Regions from separate parts of the Homo sapiens genome. Here regions 1 and 2 are each linked to region 3. The links are contacts of gene promoters, found by promoter capture Hi-C in human tissues and cell types (Jung and others, 2019). All regions are on one chromosome and are shown on one strand. Each heading gives the region's core, a stretch centred on a gene start or on the middle of the fragment in contact. The rest is flanking DNA. Distances are from core to core; before and after follow the strand shown. Region 1 overlaps PLEKHA1 (pleckstrin homology domain containing A1). Region 2 overlaps HTRA1 (HtrA serine peptidase 1). Region 3 holds the start of HTRA1 (HtrA serine peptidase 1).

Region 1 (3,392 bases), core at 335-2,834, 50 kb before region 3:
TCCTGAACAGAGATCCATTATTTTTAAACATGTCTTTTTTAAAATTTAAAAATAAATGTTCGATTTGAATCTAAAAATTAGTACTTTGAATTTGTGGCAGAAACTCCACAAGTTTGATATATTTTTAATAGAAACTGGAAACAAGTAGATGTAGAATTCTCAGAAAGATTGTAAGACCCAGGAGTTTGTGTCTGCACGTTTTTATCCTCAGTGAATTGAACATTATGACAATTTCATTCTTTCTTTTTATCCTTTTTTTTTTTTTTGAGACAGAGTCTCGCTGTGTTGCCCAGGCTGGAGTACAGTGGTGCTATCCCAGCTCACTGCAGCCTCCGCCACCGGGGTTCAAGTGATTCTTGAGCCCTCAGCCTCCTAAGTAGCTGGGATTACAGGTGTGTGCCACCACAGCCAGCTAATTTTTGTACTTTTAGTAGAGACTGGGTTTCGCCATGTTGTCCAGGTTGGTTTTAAAACTCCTGGCCTCAAGTGATCCGCCCAGCTTGGCCTCCCAAAGTGCTGGGATTACAGGCGTGAGCCACCGCGCCTAGCCCAACATTATATTTTCATTCTTGGTGAATTGAATATCAACTTTCCCTTTAACTTTTGAGAAACCTGCAGCGTTTTTATGTATTTCACTCATAAATACTTAAATCTGTCTTGTTCATCTTTTTATTCTCTAGTTATTTTTACCTTTTCTTTTCCTACTATTAGAATTTCCTACTACTAGGATCACATGCAAATGCCTGCCAAGATTACATTCAGATCTCCTACAAAAAATGCTGGGACATAAAAAAGGATAGAAAGCCAAGGAAAGGGAGAGAGGCAGTAGACAAAGAAACCAAGTGGATTCAGTGTCTGACATGTGCCAACTGCCCAGTGAGATCACTTTTCTGATTTTCATTGGACAGTTGGATGGTTTGGGGCAGGGGTGTGTCCTGAAAATGTCTATCTTAATGGCTGAATTTAGACCAAGTTTTACAGAGGTACATATTGTTTTTAGAGGAGTTATCCATGTTCATGGGTATTTTGCTTGAACTTTTCTTGTTCTTAGGGAATAAGATGATTACAAGTTAGATAATTTTTATAGTAAAATGCAGTTCTAAGTTAACTACTAGCATTTGATTTTATTATAAAGACAAATTAGAAGCAGTGAGCTTAACAGCATAAGCAAGGACTTTTAATATACTGTAATTTAAGAAAAATGGAAAAACCAATATAAATTTCGGTATTTTTTAGAATGATTTTAAAGGTTTTTCCTAATAATTCCCAGGTCTGACTAAACTTCTTGAGAGAATAACTGCTAGTTTTCTTATGGGTCACCTCTTAGCAGCACCTCTCATTTTATCTAGTTGAATAGATTGTTTTCTCTCTGGTTTCAGGTTCTCTTAATGCTAGTTGCTGTTCTTCTCAATGAGATAACTGGGCCATATTTTCTCTGTCAGAATAATTGAAATATATGGTGCTATTCATTAGAAAATATAATGGGCTTCCCTAGCAAATCATTCCAGGGTATACTATCCTAATTTTATTTGACAAGGAAAATTCTCTTCATTATTTTATTGTCTTTAAAAAGCACTCCAAAGTGTGCAAGTTCTTAGAAGAATTCAAGAGGTATTCAGGATTCTCTTCTCTTTCCTGTTTTCTCTCTCTTTTGTTTCTGCGGATGAGGGCATTGTAGTATGAATACGAACCAGAGGCTGGAGGATTGGGCCTGGGGCCTGAGAGAAACCTCTTCAAGGGAGGCAGGTGGAGAAGGAAGGGAGAGGGAGTTTTAGAAGTCACTTAAGAGACAAGTCATTTATTATATCCATAAATTACATTTGTGTGGATTGGGACTTACTGTAGCTCAGCATCCTTTCATATACACATGGACCATGTTTGCTCAATATTTTGCAGAAAGCTGCTTTGCAAATCCTTATCTGCATTGTATACCCTCTTTTCTACAAATCTGGTGGGAGTAGCATCGTATGGAAGAAGAGCACAGGTTTTAGAGCAGTGTTTCTCAAAGTGTGGTTTATGAAACTCCTGCCTCAAAAATGTCTGGTGTTCTTGCTTAAAGTGCAGGTTTTTGGGCTGCACTATAGATATGTTGAGTCAGAATTTCTGGGTTCGAAGCAGGGGAATCTGAAGTTTTAAATAATGTTCCTGGGTGATACTTTATGCACTCTAAAGTTTGAGAAATCACACTGCTTTGGAATCACACTAATAAACGGTTTGAGCCTTTGAATACAATGTGAGTGGTGTCCTGTAGTTCTACCAGTACTCTATTAACAGGAATTAGCTATATGACAAGCAAACTATTTAAGTTAAATGTTTCTACACCACTACTTCAGTGATTGTCAGTAGTATTTGTCATAGTGTTTCTGAAAGACTGCAAGGTTCCACGTGCCCTTTAAATCATTGGAGAAGACTAAATCATGTTCAACATTATAATTGATGCTGAGCAGATTTTATTACATTTTATTCACAGCCTTAAAAATGTATAATTTAAATACAGACTATGTGCTAAACAGTCTACAGATAGAAATAATGATTAACTGAGTACCTTATTTACTGAATAGATCACATAAGAAAAGCAAAAATATATGTTAAAAATTTATGATACCTCTGATTCTTTCATCCACTTTAGTGAGGTGTTAATGTGAGATTCTGCTGTTACCACAGTCATTGTTTTCCTGTACTTGTGAACGATTTATCATTGATCCAAGTATTGGAATTCCTTCTTTAAATTTCTAATGAAAAGTTTTGTTTTGAAACTTCTGATTTGTTTTAAGAATTTTGCTATTCTTTTTTCTGCTGACTTTGGATTCATCCATTGAGTCTTTCAACATTTATTGAATACACTATGGTTTTGGTAATAGTCTCTGTCTTGAAGCCAGGAAAGACTGAATATGCCACAATCCCAGAATCATGGGTAGGAATGGAGAAAGGGAAGAAAACAGCAAAGAGCTGTAAGCCAATAGTAAGTGTGCCAATAAACAGGGTCTAGAGCACAGCAGTTGGGCTTGGAAGAGTTACACACACTTGGCTAGAATGTATTATAGTCAGGATCTGAATCTATATTCCCTAATGCCCCTGAGCCTATTTCCTTACCTCTTAGGTGGGGGTAGAGCCCCTATGCATAGGGTAGACAGGAGTAGTAAAGGAGAAAAATGTGTGAACTAGTACCTGCCCGAGTAAGCACTCATTACGTGATAGCTATATTATAAAATATTATTCTAACAGAAAAATTAGTGTGATAACTTAAGGAGTACATACATGGACTATAATTTTTATATGTATCTGTCAACCGTATGCAAACGGATGAATAATTAGAAATTCTGCGAGAAAACAGGTTCACATGTATAATGCTGGTTGCAAAATGATTCATTTTATTTACTATTTCAGGTACC
Region 2 (3,226 bases), core at 546-3,045, 40 kb after region 3:
GTCAGCAAATCTTTGGTTCATCTGAGTCCACAGTCCGCTGACCCGCCCTTTTTCACAGTTCCTCCCCTGCCCATGTGCTCACTTCCCTCCTTACCCAGCTTGGCGCACTCCCTCAAGCAAGTCTTTGGATGCTGACATCCCCCGTAAACAACCCTTCTGCGGCCTGGTTTGATTTTCCTTAGGAGACATGCAAGTTCTATAGCACTGTTTCTTGCTGGGTATGGAGGATGTGCTATTTTGTCCATTGCATATTTTTTAAAGAAAATGAAAGGTTAGCATAACTGTTTCCAGAAGGCACATTGAATCACTCAGTTGAGTCCCAGCCAGTTGCTGCAATGTTAGCCTTTGAAGCAAACTTGAACCAACACAGGACCAGCCTAGAAGTCCCAGCCTCCAGAAATGATGCAGTGGATTCTGCAGATTCAGCAACAACAATATTTTTGTAACTCAAGAGCACTTAGTAATTTTCAAAGGAGAGAAAGAAGTAATTGACTTGGCTTATTAGGTTGAAAAAGAGTTGCCAACTTTTTCTTTGGTTTTGATGTTATTGGTTTTTTTTTATTTTTCTTTTCTCCAAGCTTCAGGGAATGAGATTGAATGAGCACTCAAGTGCTACTAGGCAGAACCCTGAATGGAAGGAAGCTGAAATACCGATGGGTCATTGCTTTTCACAGTCCTCTATGAAAGATTACTGGCCAAGCCAGCATCTGGAGAATTCTAGGAACGCCCCCTCCTCTTGCAGCAGTATAAGTTTGCGGGGATCATCTGACCCCATTGGGGAGTTGTATGAAAAAGGGGATTTATTGGGGACCCTGTTGCCTGTTTGGATCTTACTTACATTTAACTATTGTCTGCTAATGGATTTTTTGGAAAGCAACCAGGTTTTCCGTAAAGAATAGCTAATTGTCAGAGCTGAGATGACCATTGGAGATCACTGGGCTCAACTCCCTAATTTTAGAGGTGCTAAAACCGCAATCCAGAGAAGCTAATCAAGTGGTTCAAGGTTGTAGACTGAGTTCATATAGGACCAAGACCCAGCCCAGATGTCCTACTGTCTGGGACAGTGTTCTCTCAGCATACGTGGAGCCTGAGGGGGTAATGTGTGTGCGTGTGTGTGCATGTATGCATATACACATAGGTGTTTTGCCTAAGTTTTCACTTCTGCCCCACCTTGGTTGATCTTGGAGAATGAGCCTGAGGCGCGCTGTCAACCTGGGGGCCTCATTCAGCACAGGCCCAACTTTTCTGCCCTGGGGGAGTTCCAGCAGTTATGGTTCATCTGTGGTTCAGTTATGGAACTCACACCACACATAGTGCCCCCAAAACCGAGGCTGCGTGCACAGACCTCCCCTCCCTTCCCGTGGTGGGCCCCTGCTTGGGTTCTTCCTAAACTTCCCCTTTGCCCTGCTCTGTGTTATACCCTCTCTGGTCCCCTGTCCCTGTGGAGTGATCCGGGGCACAAGGGCAGCTGTTTCCCCGCTGACCTCTGTGTGCCCTGAGCATCTGGGAGGTGGGGAGCAGGCTGGTGAGAAGAACACCTGGAGTGGAGGTTGGGGTCAGGGAGGGTCCCAGTCCCGGTACCACCCCCACCTGCTGTGGGACCTGCAGTCCCCTCATCAGCAGAACGGCTATGAAGCCATCCTGCCCATCCACAGGGTGGTGGGTCGTGAAGGCTGCATACCTGGCAGAGCGGGAGAAGCTCTGGGAAGATGCCGGACACGCGCCGTGGGAGTGATTTCCCTGCCTTGCCCAGATTCTGCTCCCATCACCTGAACCTGCCTGTCACCACCATGGAACTGCTGTGACCATTGCTTTCCTTTTAAGCAGATTAGCAGACATCTCCTGCTCCACCCTGCCAAACAAACAAACAAACAAGCAAACAAACAAACAAAAATGTGCATGAGGGAGTATGGACTTGTAGAGTCTTTTCTAAACATTGTTAGGTGCTTGTATTGGGATCCTCTCTTAAAATGAACCATATTCCCCAGGCTTTGGATGACACTCATGGTTGCCCACCCTCCAACTTCCTTCCCTGCTGGCAGAGCCCTGGGTTTGTTTTAGTTCCAACCCTGACCCCACCGCATTCCTGACTCAGGCAAATTCGCAGGGTCCAATGCAGTCAGGGGAGCCACGTTCCCTCCTCCAACGAGTGCTGAGGTCGCTGCTTGATTGGATACTGCCGATGACCTACGAGGAGGAGGGTGCCAGGGCGCTTTTGGGACTTTGCTTTTCTGGAGAGATGCTTCCACAGCATGGTCATGGACACAGTCACGTCTTGATGTGATGTCTGGAATGGTGGTGGCCGTCTTGTGGCTGTGAGAACAGGCTGAGGTTGATTGGATGGAGGGAAGGAAGGAGCCTTGTTCTTGATGCTGTCTGTGAGCCTTTGAGTTATCAGCCTGGTACCACCCAGCCCTTGGACAGATATCTACTCTACATACTCCATTTGGAGTTTTTTTTTTTTTTTTTTTTTTTTTTTTTTTTTGTCACTTGCAGTTGAAAACACCCTAATTGATACACACAAACTATTTTTAGTGCTGGTCTGTGTTTGGCCCTTATGGAAGACTCTGGGCTGAGCTGCCCATGGTGAGGGAGGTGGACTTTGTGTTTTCTTACTGCTCTGTGTCCTGGTGGCTTGTTTGTGTCTCTGCCCATGAGACAAAAGCCGAGAGGGCAAGGGCAGATTTTCTTAATCATATGTTCCCTGCACCAAGCTCATAGGAGACACTCACTGAATGGTTGTTGAGAGAGTTCTCTTTCACGGAGGCAATGTTTTGTGAAACGATGCTGCTTGTTGTTGTCTGTTGGTTGTAATATGCATGAACACTAAGAGCCATCTTTAATCATGCTGTGGGCCGCCTCTTCCAAGGTGTTAGCATTACTCCCACTACCTGGTCAGCATCCTGCCTATGGCTAGGACTTTGCAATTTACATAGATATGGTGGGGAGACCTGGAGCCCATGGCCAGGACTCTGACACCCTCACTGGATCTGTTTCTACATCTACCTGGATGGCCGTCTAGGACATTAGAGGATTTGTGTCTTCCTAAAGTCCCTCTGTTGAGAGACTTCTGGCTCTGTTAAGAGGACACTATTTAGCATTGTGAGTCCCTGCAGGCTGGGGGCCAGTGGGCGTTTTTCTTCTAGATGCCCCCTCTCTTCTTCTGGCCTCCCAGGCTTCCTGCTCCTGAGATTGTGAGAACTGGCCTGTGCTGGGCTCACTGCAG
Region 3 (3,224 bases), core at 181-2,680:
ATCCAGGGCCGAATGGATTTTGGGTCAAGGCCTCCCTCCCGCAGCCAGGAGGCCCTGGCTTTATGGAATATCGCTTGGAGTCCAGGGAGTCAGCATGGGGACCCCGACAGCTTTCCCATGCCCCAGGCTCCTGGGCCTTTCTGGGGGACCCCTCTGGACCTTGGGCATTAACAAGGTTCATATTTGGAAGGTGCTTTGAGGGGGCTTATAGGTATTTGGAGTTTACTTTTTAAACTATTTGTATTGGAAAAATAACGTGTGCACAAGGGAACAACCCAAATACAGAAGAATATTAAAATCCCCAAGCCCCCAGCCCCCTCCCATGCTACTCTATCCCAAAGTCAGCTCTGCCGGCTCACCCAACCCTGGGTGCCTCTGCCCAGGGTGGGGGTGGAGGTTTGAGGGTTCGGGATGAGGGCTGGACGAAGGGCCTCCTCTCAGGTCCTTGGACACGAGCTGTGCCCATCTGCTCAGTGTGGACCCAGGACTACTGCCCACAGGCCTGGTGCTGCCTGGGCACCCAGACCCACCTCCAGGGTCGCCCTCAGCCCTCCTGATGACTCTCGGACTCGCATCTGTCCCAACGGATGCACCAAAGATTCTCCAGTGGGAAATCAAATTTTTGATAACAAGTGTTTTGAAATAATCACGCACTTGGTGAAAAATCAAAAGAGGGGAAAACCCCTTTCCCATCTGAGACCGCTCCACCCTCGCCAGTTACGAGCTGCCGAGCCGCTTCCTAGGCTCTCTGCGAATACGGACACGCATGCCACCCACAACAACTTTTTAAAAGAATCAGACGTGTGAAGGATTCTATTCGAATTACTTCTGCTCTCTGCTTTTATCACTTCACTGTGGGTCTGGGCGCGGGCTTTCTGCCAGCTCCGCGGACGCTGCCTTCGTCCGGCCGCAGAGGCCCCGCGGTCAGGGTCCCGCGTGCGGGGTACCGGGGGCAGAACCAGCGCGTGACCGGGGTCCGCGGTGCCGCAACGCCCCGGGTCTGCGCAGAGGCCCCTGCAGTCCCTGCCCGGCCCAGTCCGAGCTTCCCGGGCGGGCCCCCAGTCCGGCGATTTGCAGGAACTTTCCCCGGCGCTCCCACGCGAAGCCGCCGCAGGGCCCCCTTGCAAAGTTCCATTAGTTTGAAGGACGCGAATCTCAGCGAGAGAACCTGCGGAAAGCGAATATGTGGGGCGCGCAGACGGGGAAACTGAGTCCCGCGAGAGGGCCGGCCTGTGCGCTGCCCCGCCCGCGCCCCGCCAGCACCGCCGTGCCCGGGCGCGCCCGCCCTGCCCCCTCCGCGGGCGGTCCCGGTCCAGCCGCCCGCCCTCCCTCCCGCCATCCGGCCAGCCCCCATCCCGGGCGCCGTGCCCGTCCCCAAGGCGGCTCGTCACCGCTGCGAGGCCAATGGGCTGGGCCGCGCGGCCGCGCGCACTCGCACCCGCTGCCCCCGAGGCCCTCCTGCACTCTCCCCGGCGCCGCTCTCCGGCCCTCGCCCTGTCCGCCGCCACCGCCGCCGCCGCCAGAGTCGCCATGCAGATCCCGCGCGCCGCTCTTCTCCCGCTGCTGCTGCTGCTGCTGGCGGCGCCCGCCTCGGCGCAGCTGTCCCGGGCCGGCCGCTCGGCGCCTTTGGCCGCCGGGTGCCCAGACCGCTGCGAGCCGGCGCGCTGCCCGCCGCAGCCGGAGCACTGCGAGGGCGGCCGGGCCCGGGACGCGTGCGGCTGCTGCGAGGTGTGCGGCGCGCCCGAGGGCGCCGCGTGCGGCCTGCAGGAGGGCCCGTGCGGCGAGGGGCTGCAGTGCGTGGTGCCCTTCGGGGTGCCAGCCTCGGCCACGGTGCGGCGGCGCGCGCAGGCCGGCCTCTGTGTGTGCGCCAGCAGCGAGCCGGTGTGCGGCAGCGACGCCAACACCTACGCCAACCTGTGCCAGCTGCGCGCCGCCAGCCGCCGCTCCGAGAGGCTGCACCGGCCGCCGGTCATCGTCCTGCAGCGCGGAGCCTGCGGCCAAGGTACTCCGCCGCGCTCCTGGGCAGCTCCCCACTCTCTCCATCCCAGCTCGGACCTGCTTCTGCGGGACTGGTGGGCAGGTTGAGGGGCAGCGAAGCGTTGTGGGGTGGCCAGGGCAACTCTCGGGGACAGGCAGGTGGGCCCCGGGGTGGCGGATTTCCGCGGGCTGCCTCGGAACCGAGCTTCGCGCCCAGCCCGGGGCCGGTTCTGCGCCCAGACGATGCCAGTACGCCCGGCCTGCACTCTGGGGCTCGAGACGCCGGGCGACCGGCCATGGAGTGCCCTGAGGGCAACCACACAGCGCGGGGACCCCAGGACAAATAAGAGGAATGGGGGCATAAAGGAAGGAGAGAAGTTCAGGACTGGGAATTGGCGCCTCGCAGAGCGGCTTCAGGACCACAAGAAGTCATTTCGGTTGCTTTTTCTTCTATTTACGTCCTCCGTCCCCTTTAAAATTCACTGCTTTGATCACGGGACCGCTCAGTGAAAACTGTATGTAACTCTTTTGGAAAGGAACAGTGTTTGCCGGCCCGCCCCGGAGTTTCTCCAAAAAGTCTACCCCGAGCAGGGAACGGTTTGGCACCGCTCTCGTTTCGGCGGCGTTGCTGCCTGTCTTGCTTTCCTCGTTTTGAGCCAGCCCTACAAAAATGAAAGTGGCTCCTTTTGAATAAGCTGAATCGGGCTTTGGATCACGAAATCTGCAGAGGCGGAGAAGGGACCGGGTTAGTGATGAGGAAGAAGTCTACCCCTCTGTTCCTACAGCCGCACACAGGACCTGTTCTGGCAGGGGAGACGGTGGTGATGGGGGAAGGAGTGGAATGGAGCAATGTCTAACTCTCTCGCGGGACCTTCCGGAGAGATGCTCCTCATCTTCAGGCAGAGGCCATGTGGAAAAATAATATCGAGTTCAGCAGCGGCCAGCCCCGCGTTGTAGGAACCAGACAGCGGGGCTTGGCAGTGCGCTTGGGCGCAGCCGTGCCGCTGCTGCCGGACCCCAGTGCTGCCTCCTCAACACGGGCAGTGCCAGGAGAGGGGCATAGGGGAGCACAGTGCAGAGGGACTGGTCTAGAGTTTACTTTATAGGAATATGGTTCGGTGTGACCAACTAGGGCTTAGCATAGTTTGGCTTACGTGGACGGGAAGATGCCAGAGCCGAACTGGGTGAAATTCGAGATTGCGTATTTCACCAACACAGGAGCACAGCCCTCGGGAAACTCAGCCTAG

The links. Contacts are between HindIII fragments. The study calls those that stand out against the background at their distance.
Region 1: a fragment that was not itself captured here is called in contact with the fragment with the promoter of HTRA1 in region 3 in 1 of the 25 tissues and cell types used here (hippocampus).
Region 2: a fragment that was not itself captured here is called in contact with the fragment with the promoter of HTRA1 in region 3 in 4 of the 25 tissues and cell types used here (bladder, dorsolateral prefrontal cortex, hippocampus and 1 more).

The regions. Positions count from the first base shown.
Region 1 is chr10:122,409,533-122,412,924 of GRCh38, forward strand. It overlaps PLEKHA1 (pleckstrin homology domain containing A1), which reads left to right. Exons shown (of 12, transcript NM_001001974.4): 6 at 3,388-3,392. Among named protein-coding and RNA genes, the nearest start is that of MIR3941, 5.7 kb to the right of the region's middle. The HindIII fragment of the contact is 5,773 bases long and covers 1-3,392 here.
Region 2 is chr10:122,499,510-122,502,735 of GRCh38, forward strand. All of the region lies in intron 3 of HTRA1 (HtrA serine peptidase 1), which reads left to right. Among named protein-coding and RNA genes, the nearest start is that of HTRA1, 40 kb to the left of the region's middle. The HindIII fragment of the contact is 4,731 bases long and covers 1-3,226 here.
Region 3 is chr10:122,460,123-122,463,346 of GRCh38, forward strand. HTRA1 (HtrA serine peptidase 1) reads left to right here and starts at 1,431. Exons shown (of 9, transcript NM_002775.5): 1 at 1,431-2,002. The coding sequence starts at 1,531. It overlaps HTRA1-AS1 (HTRA1 and ARMS2 antisense RNA 1), which reads right to left and starts at 1,283. Exons shown (of 3, transcript XR_946382.3): 1 at 827-1,283. The HindIII fragment of the contact is 7,877 bases long and covers 1-3,224 here.